Regions from separate parts of the Homo sapiens genome. Here region 2 is linked to region 1. Evidence: promoter capture Hi-C in 16 types of primary human blood cells and fetal thymus (Javierre and others, 2016). All regions are on one chromosome and are shown on one strand. The core of a region is centred on a gene start or on the middle of the fragment in contact, and the rest is flanking DNA. Distances in the headings are between cores, read along the strand shown.

Evidence for each region. The method cuts DNA at HindIII sites, captures the fragments that hold promoters and counts their contacts. A CHiCAGO score of 5 or more calls a contact.
Region 2: a contact is called between a fragment that was not itself captured here and the fragment with the promoter of STARD3NL in region 1, in 1 of 17 cell types (fetal thymus). The highest score is 8.2, in fetal thymus.

The regions. Positions count from the first base shown.
Region 1 is chr7:38,175,897-38,180,675 of GRCh38, forward strand. STARD3NL (STARD3 N-terminal like) reads left to right here and starts at 2,349. Exons shown (of 9, transcript NM_032016.4): 1 at 2,349-2,524. RefSeq lists enhancers at 1-248, 1,996-2,075 and a silencer at 2,326-2,605. The HindIII fragment of the contact is 5,243 bases long and covers 1,554-4,779 here.
Region 2 is chr7:39,733,950-39,738,728 of GRCh38, forward strand. LINC00265 (long intergenic non-protein coding RNA 265) reads left to right here. Exons shown (of 12, transcript NR_026999.1): 1 at 1-95. Among named protein-coding and RNA genes, the nearest start is that of LINC00265, 2.8 kb to the left of the region's middle. RefSeq lists enhancers at 1-638, 843-1,614. The HindIII fragment of the contact is 3,477 bases long and covers 1-3,169 here.

The DNA of each region.
Region 1 (4,779 bases), core at 1,099-3,598:
CCGATTAGCCAGACACAGAGTGCTAATTGGTGCATTTACAAACCTTTAGCTAGACACAGAGTGCTGATTGGTGTGTTTACAATCCTTTAGCTAGACAGAAAAGTTCTCCAAGTCCCCACCCAACCTAGAAGCCCAGCCGGCTTCATCTCTCAGTTTCCTTTAGTTCTTTGAGCATATGTAAGACAGTTGACTTAAATCATTATCTAATAAGTCCACTATCTGGGCTTCCTTAGGAATGGTTTCCATCAATTTCTTTGAGACTTCAGAGGCTACACATGAGTGAATGCAATTAAATCCACAATGTGATGCCTCTACATATTCACCAGAATGTATAACATTTAAAAAGGAAAAGAAAAAGGAAGAACACAAAACACAAATGAGTATAGTAAGTGTTGGCAAAGATGCAGAGTAACTGAAATTTTCATTCACGACTAGGGCATGTATAAATTAGTAAAACCTAAAAACTATTTGGCAGTGTCTATTAATGTTGAATATATTGAATATATACCCTGTGCATAGTAACACTACTTCCAGGGATCTTCCAAAATCAAATGTGTAACTATGTGCATCATAAGACAGGTACAAGAATATTCATAGCAGCGTCATTTGTAATTACCCCAAACTTTAAATAATCTAATGTCAAACAACAGTAGAATAGGCAAGTAAATTTTAGAATTATATACAAAAATGAAAATGAAACTATTATATTCTTGAATATGGATCAATCTTACAAATATAGTATTAAGCAAAAAGAGCCACATAAGAGTGCGTATTATGTATGACTATTTATAAACATTCAGAAGCAGGCAAAACTAATTGGGTGGTAGGATTCAGAATTGTGCCTATCTGTGTGTAGGGGTATAATGACTAAGACTGAGCATGAGGAAAGCTTCTAAATTGCTGGTAAACATTTAAAATTTTGCTGTGAGGCGGTGGTTACACAAGTTTGTTCACACTGTCACTAAGACAAGCACTTATGATTATTACACTTATTTTGTATATGTGTTATGCTTTAAAAGGTTTTCACATCTATCAGTTTATAAAATTTTTTTAAATTGTATTTTATCAGTATTGGCGAGGATACAGGGAAAAATTGCTCAAATACTAGCAGTGGGAATGTAAGTTAAAACAACTACTCAGGGGAGCAAATCAGTGAAATCTATTAAGGATTTACATCGTGCAAACTCTGTGATCCAGTACATTCTCTTGTTGGTATCTGCACTCTAGAGAAATACTTGGACCTAAGTACAAAAAGGCATCTACATATATATTTATGGTACCATTGCTTCTCATAATAATATTAATAAACAAACGTGAGGGTGGGGGAATGGTACATTAATTATGTATGTATATATATACACATATTGGTTCTGAGGACATGCAGCATTTTCAGAGAATGAGGTAGATTTATATACAGATATGGAAAGATTTCAATGCTAAGTGTAAAAAAGTAACATCTACACTTGCAAATGCACAGGAACTAGGAGTCATCATCTACAGACTGGGTTTGTAATTAGGGCCTAAAAGGGATATAAGCATAATTGTAACGTTTAAGCTTTTTTTTTTTTTCGCATGGACAAAATCTTACTTGTGTAATTTAAAATTAATAACGGTACTTAGAATGACTTTGGAAAAATATACAAATAATGAAATGGGGATCCAAAGAATGTTCACTGTATACCTCTGTACTTCTAAAAATGTGAATAAGTGTAGCATCCGTTGGGAGAAAAGTTTAATTAAATTTTAAATAAAACAATAAAAGGTGCCTAACTTCGTGTGAAAACAGACATATAGATATAATTAAATGTGACTACCGCTTAGAGATGTTAGTTATGAACTAGGAGCGCTGAGAAAAGGTATCCTAAATAGGTCTGGGGGAAGTGAGAGTTAGAAGAGGTGACTCTTGAGCTGAGTACCGACATAGAAATGGTATGCCCTGTTTTTATTCCTGGAGGGCTCAGCATGAGGTGCCCAAGAGGCCCTGAAACCCATTTCCATGACATTTTCCCACGAGCTGGAGCATAAACCCCCACCGAATAACTGAAGGGAAGCGGAAGGCGCAGAAACGCGGACGAAGAGGAAGCGGGCGCTTGTTAAACCGTGCGATGCACAATGCGGGAAAGTCCAACCAGCTCCGTGTTTCAAAGCTGGATGCCCAGATTTCCCACCCATTCCTACAGGCAGACCGGCTCGCCCTCTCCCTCCTTCCCGCGTCGTTTACTGGTCAGTAGAAGATTGACATGTCATCTGGCCAATAGGTTGGCTCCTCTATGGAGGCACTCAGGAACCAGTCGGGTCTTTGGTCCCTCGAGCGAGATGCGAGCTGTGTGCGTCGACGTCAGCGTGCTGACGTCACGGGCCGGAGGTCCCGGGGCTGCTGGGTGCGGGCGGTGGGCTGCGCGTTGTCCGCTGGACTGGGTCCCGGTCACGCCCCGCCAAGCCCCGCCCCTCAGGCCGGGGCGCGACCGCGGATCCGCAGTTCCCGGGCCAGCCTGGGGCGGCCGGCCAGGAACCACCCGTTAAGGTAGGCTGGGTTTCTCGTTCCCCTATTTGACAGGTTGGAAAACTGAGTCTCCTGGGTCAGATGACTTACATGGGGGCGTACAGGGGACCCGCGGACGGAGGCCATATCCTGGTCCTGTTCTGTTTCCTGAGTCCTGCGCGAGCCTCCAGGGGAGGAGGAGGGGCGAGGCAGGCTGTGCTCATAATGGACACAAGAGTGAAGTTGCAGAATGCTGAGCCCCGCTGCTCCCACGGCGTGGGCCGGGATTCAGGGATGGATATAGGTAGCGGGAGTGTCCTCATTCCTCCAGCCTGCGGACCCTGAGGAGTCCCCGGTGGGGTCGGCCCCGGGCTGGCGCCATGGGCCCCCAAGAAGGACCAAGAATTGGTGACTGGGTGTAATGCGTGGGTTGTCCAGACACAGGCGGTTGTGAGTCTCTTCTATTCATTGAGAAAAGTCGTGTTCAAAAAAAAAAAAAAGAAAGAAAGCACGAATCATGAATGTTCTCCCTGTGGTTTCAGTTAACTGCTTCACCTACTCGTAGATATCTCGCCATTGTTTGAAATCTTAGTTGCTTGAATACTTTTGATTTAGGGTTAGGGATTTTTCCCCCTCTCTTTTAGTTCAAACATGGGTGGACATTGTGGAACTTTTCTTTGTTCACTGTGTCATTTGTCTTCTATTTCACAGATGGAATCACTGAATTCATCACTTGACACAGTACTAGTTTGGATAAGTTTAGCAAGGTAACCAAGTAACGGGTCTAATTAAATCTTTACTGGAATTAGTCCAGTTTGCCACATTTCCTTGTTAGGAAGAATTCTGAAAGGTAATTCCCGTCTGTATACCATATCTACCCATACGCCTCTTTCTAGAAGCAGGATCTCACAAAACGACTTATGGTATCCTTGTTTTATTGATGGATTCTGATAAGGTGGTGGATTATTCATGTTCATAAAATGAAAACATACAATATGTTGTCGTGTAGAAGTCACTGTCTTTAAAATCTAACTGTCTCAAACATTGGTCTTTTAAAACTGCATTATTGCATTGCCTAAAACTGCATGAAAGAAATGAAATGAAACAGCCTCTGAGGGATATTACCTTACTTATGTTCACAGAAGGATGGTGATTAACATCATTTGGATTTATTCAATGGACAGTTTGCCTGAGTGATTGTCTATGCCACTCATTGTTTTAGGTTTTAGAGATTGAGTAGTGAGCAATTTAGATAAGGCCCATACCCTCAAAGACTTTAACTTTTGTTGGAGAATATAATAAACATGTAAATCAAAGAGACAAGTTTAGATAGGAATAAATGTCAGAAAAGATACTACTGGGTAGAGAGTTTGAGAGTGACTGGGTTGTATGGAGAAATGGGATGGTCAGGGAAGACCTCCCTAAGGAGGTAACACGAGGTGACATTTTGGGTGATAGCTGAATGTTTAGCTGAGTCAGCCATGAGAAAATGGGCTGGAAGTTTCTAGGCAGATATAAACAGTGTAAAGGAGCTAAAGGAAGAATGAACTTGGCATGTTCCAGGGACAGAGGGAAGCCCGTGTGGCTGGAGCTGAGTGAACCTAGGGGAGGGTGAGGTGAGGAGACAGTGGTCAGAGGTGACACTGGAGAGGTGTACAGGGATTGGATCATCTTGTATCCCATGTGAGCCTTACAGGCAGGCAAGGGAAAGATAATTTGTGTACTGCAGAGTCTTGTTTTCTTTTAGTGATACTCATAAACTCTAGCCAACTTTCTGCTTTGTTTTGGTTATGAAATCATTGCAGTAATTTATTGTGTATATATTTTTTCTCCAGAGGCCCTCTTAATGAAAAGATCTTGTTTCCTTCAGCACCTTATCCGATGTAGTTTGTTTCCTTTCCATTGTTATATGCAGAACTCAAAGTCTTTGCTTTTTCTTAAGCTCCCTGCTTTTAATCCTTTCTACTTCCAACCGTGAATACTCTTTCTTATTACCTGTACCTGCCTTCCACTTGGAAAGCAGTGGCAGTTGGTCCCTGCTCTTCTCCAAGCCAAATTCTAGGAAGCTGCATTGGCAAGTGGATTATTGTTCTTCATTAGAGCTTGTATTACTGACCAGGAACATAACGCTTGCCTTTTTTTAGTACCTACGATATGCCAGGTATGTTACATACATTCTATTCCTTCCAACTTGTGGCAAAGGAAAATATTAAGCCTTTTTGATAGTGAGGGAAACTTACACTTCAGCTACTGAGCTAGTACTGATGGAGCTTGTATTTGAACTCCCATTAGGTTTA
Region 2 (4,779 bases), core at 181-2,680, 1.6 Mb after region 1:
GGAATGTGGCTATGCAGCCTGAGTCATGTGGCATGCAGATGCAACCTCTGCCTTTTTCCGCTGTAAATAATTAAGAAGACCAAGTAGCATCCAAGGTAAGACCCCTTTAGATCATTGTCCCTCCTCACAGTCATAATCTTCCTTGGAATGTAGCAATCTGAAACCAACCACATCGTTGTAGGTATGCAACTTGCATGCACATTTGTAATCCTGCTGGAATGTCCCTGCCTCCGTCTATATAATTGAAACCTTAACTTCACCTTGGAAACGCTGACATCATTTGTTTGGAGTCAGCGCTTTCCTGGATGGCCATCCTCAATCTTTGTGTTTAAATAAACTCTATGCTTATTTACATTTTCTGAACTTCATTGTTTAAGGTTGACAGAATGCAGGGGGCAGGGGGACAGTGCAGTGGAGGGACATTAGAACCCCTAGAGTCCTGTGACTCCCAGTCAGAGGGGTCGCTCAGCTGCCAGGTGTCTTTCAAGGGTTCAAGATGAAGTGACGTGCCCCAGGTCCCACAGTGAGGAAGTGGCTGAGTCAGAACATAGGTAATTTCCAGAGCTTCTAATTAGCAATTCACAAGGAGATCCTTCAGAGCCTCTGCTTCCCCATTTGTAGAATGAGGATTGTAAACCCTTCTTCAGTGGGATGCCCCTAGAATTATGTGAAACCACTACAAAAAGTGCCAAACACATGGCTTTTAATAAATGGCCATTATGTCTTTAATTTTTAATAAAGAAAATGGGTTCTTATTAAATTTGTATTCTGTGTTGGGTCATAATGCTTATTCTTCTGTTAACTCGTTCCTCTTTAAGCTAGTCTGGCTTCCTGGTCTTCCTCTCTCCACCTCACCTCCCACTTCTGGAATTCCTAGGGCTTCAGCTTGCTTCTCTCTTACCCTGGTCACTTCACTCTCCCCTCCAGTAGATCTTGAGAGGTCTGTACCTTAATTTGCTAGTCTCCTTCCCGTTCCAGGCATCAGTTTTTTTATATATAGATTTACCCTAGGCCAGGCACAGTGGCACACACCTGTAATCCCAGCACTTTGAAAGGCCAAGGTGGGCGGATCACGAGGTCAGAAGTTCGAGACCAGCCTGGCCAACATGGTGAAACCCTGTCTCTACTAAAAGTACAAAAATTAGCCAGGCATAGTGTGTGTGCCTGTAATCCCAGCTACTCGAGAGGCTGAGGCAGGAGAATCTCTTGAACCCAGGAGGTGGAGATTGTAGTGAGCTGAGATCGTGCCACTGCACTCCAGCCTAGATGACAGAGCAAGACTCGGTCTTGAAAAAAAACAAAAACAAAAATTAGCCGGGCATAGTGCACGCCTGTAATCCCAGTTACTCTGGAGGCTGAGGCAGGGGAATTGCTTGAAACCTGGGAGGCGGGGGTTGCAGTGAGCTGAGATCATGGCACTGCACTCCAGCCTGGGTGACAGTGTAAGACTCCGTCTCAAAAAAAAAAAAAAACAAAAACAACAACAACAACAACAACAACAATCAAAAATAAATAAATAATAAAATAGGAAAAAAGTTAGATTTACTGTAATCTGCTGTAAAATGGGACCCTGTCTCTTACATTCCCTCTGTCCTCACTATTCCCAAAGACAAGGTTACAGAACTTTGCCATAATTAAGGGTTTTGCAGTTTTTATTATGGAAACACAATTGGATGCAAGGAGAATAACAAACTAGAGGTAATTATGGAGCTTAAGGAAATAACACCAAGTCATCTGCCAGATGCTTAGATGTTGGCATCCCTGTGGGTACTGGCCTAAGCTGGCTTCTCACCTCAAGTACCCTCTCTGCAGATAGTTCCTACCTCTTTACTGGCAGCTCAGATCTCTCCTGACCTATGGACTCATGTCCTTCTTCCATTCAAGAGTATTGATCTCTCCACTTCTCTAAGTAGCTCTCAAGAGGAATAAACCAGTGAGAGACAAGCCCCCCATTTCTGACCTAACTTAACAACCTGGAGGTGGGTGAACCAGGCAGGAGCCAGCCAGATTGCAGGGATGCCGACAGTCTCAGTGATGACAGCCCTTTTTAGCTATGGATAACCCAGCATCACTGATCTCAGCTGGTGGCAGGAAGCTATCCCTAGGGTGCATGGAGGTCTGGCAGTTCTTATCTCAGAACCAATAATCCTAGACCAGGGAGACTGGCCTTTAGCCAGGCCTCAAAAACCACTGAAAGAGCTGAGTGATGACAAAGTGAAGTAGCAAGGCTCGTGCTGCTAGGGCTGATGGTTAACGACCTCAGTTTCCTCATCTGTAAACTAGTGAGAAAAATACTATCTGCCTCATGGGTAGTTATGGGGAATGAATGAGTGAATGCATATGAAGCGTTACTAAGTGGTATGTAAATCTTAGCTATTATTATCGTTTGGAGAGGTGAGAAAATGGGGTAGCTTTTTTAGTGGATAAAATAGAAAGATTTTCCACACATATCTCTTCTTTTGCCAATGTGGTCTCTTTATATGAACATATTCGTAAGTTAACCTTTGTTTTTAGTTTCTGTCTTACTGAAAGAATTGCAATATTTACACACTGTCACAGTATAAATGAACTTCTGTTTCATAAATTATGTAGTATTCTTTTTCTTTTTTTTGAGATAGGGTCTCACTCTGTTGCCCAGGCTGGAGTGCAGTGGCACAATCACGACTCACTGCAGATTCAACCTCCCGGGCTCAAGCAATCCTCTTGCCTCAGCCTCTGGAGTAGCTAGGATAATGCCACCATGCCACCATGCCTGGCTAATATTTTATTTTTATTTTATATAGAGACAGGGTCTCATTATGTTGCTGAGGCTGATCTCAATCTCCTGGGCTCAAGCGAACCTCCTGCTTCAGCCTCCCAAAGTGCTGGGATTACAGGTGTGAGCCACTGTGCCCAGCCAACTATGTAGCTTTCATGTACTTATATGCTTCATAGTCTATCAGGCTTCTGACAGTTGCATTTTTCTCCTTTGGAACATCAGCAAGACGTTGGATTTATACTAGGACTAGCCATGTTGGGGGAGGTACCTCTTAACATATTGAGGACATGGAGTTTTGTTTGGAAGGGACTTCAGTTTCCTCTCTACCCACCAAATGCTATGCTTATGCCTATGGCTTGTCCTTCTGGTTGGGCTTATTGAAAGAAAAAAAAAAGAAACTTAGGAGGCAGAAGCTTTGAGGCCAGGGACTGTTGAGTGTGGCATAGTCGGTTGGTCTGTCTGAAGTCACTTGGTTAACTATGTTGAATAGAAAAATACAGTCAAAGAGCCCACCTGCTGTTCTCCAGGGATCCTGAGACGTATGCCACCTCCATGCTGTTACAGTATCAGAGCCCAGAGGGGCGTAGGTGGAAACCTCACAAACAGTCTGGCTTCTTCTAAACCCTTTCAGATGTTGATCCTTTATATATCAAACTTGGAGCACAAGTGCGGCAACTCAACCTGCTGACAGGATTAAACAAGAATACCTGAGGCCAGGTGCGGTGGCTCATGACTGTAATCCCAGCACTTTGGGAGGCCAAGGTGGGTGGATCACTTGAGGTCAGGAGTTCGAGACCAGCCTGACCAGTATGATGAAACCCCATCTCAACTAAAAAGACAAAAATTAGCCAAGTGTGGTGGCACACACCTATAGACCCAGCTACTTGGGAGGCTCAGCCAGGAGAATCGCTTGAACCTGGGAGGTGGAGGTTGCAGTGCACCGAGATCATCCCATTGCACTCCAGCCTGGGCGACAGAGAGAGACCCTGCCTCAAAGAAAAAAAAAAAGAATATCTGTCCTAACCCACCAATCCCATTTCTTTTGCTCTCTTGAAGGAAAAGGGTCCAGGAACTGTTGGCAATTTTTATCCAAAGTAACTGACACAAAGACAAAAATACTTTATCAAAACAAGAGAGACTACAGACTATTTATTAATGCCCTGGAAAACTGGGCATCTTTTGAAATGATGTGGTGTATCTGAAACCCAAATTCTGAAATTAAGTTCCTTGGATACACCAAAAGCAGGGCAATGACATTTATTGGTGTCTTTTGTGTGTCAGTTAACAAAAATGCTTTACATATGTTGAATAATTTTAAGCCCTCAAAACAAAACTATCTTCACTTTTATGGGTCTAGAAAAGGAAGCTCTAAAATTGAGGTCATACCTACAAAGTACCATGACTAACGTGGTTGTGGCTGGAACACCATTCTGGATCTATCTACAGGTTCTTAGGGGAGGCAATCATCTGTTTATCAATAGCTGGGCTGTCTTATAGTGAGTAAAATAGCTAAAAAAAAAAAAAAAAAATATATATATATATATATATATATATATATATGTTTGTTTGTTTGTTTTGTTTTGTTTTGTTTGAGACAGAGTCTTGCCTGTCACCCAGGCTGGAGTGTAGTGGTGCCATATTGGCTCACTGCAACTTCTGCCTCCCAAGTTCAAGCAATTCTCCTGCCTCACCCTCCTGAGTACTTGGGATTACAGATATGCACCACCATGCCTGGCTAACTTTTGTATTTTTAGTAGAGACTGGGTTTCACCATGTTGGTCAGGCTGGTCTCGAACTCCTGACCTCAAGTGATCCACCCACCTTAGCCTCCCAAAGTGCTGGGATTACAGGCGTGAGCCACCGTGCCTGTAAAGATACAAGTTTTATAGATAAGTTAGAAAAATATATATAAGGGAAGGCACAGTGGCTTATGCCTGTAATCCCAGCACTTTGGGAGGGCAAGGAAGGCAGATCACCAAGTCAGGAGTTTGAGACCAGCCTGGCCAATATGGTGAAACCCC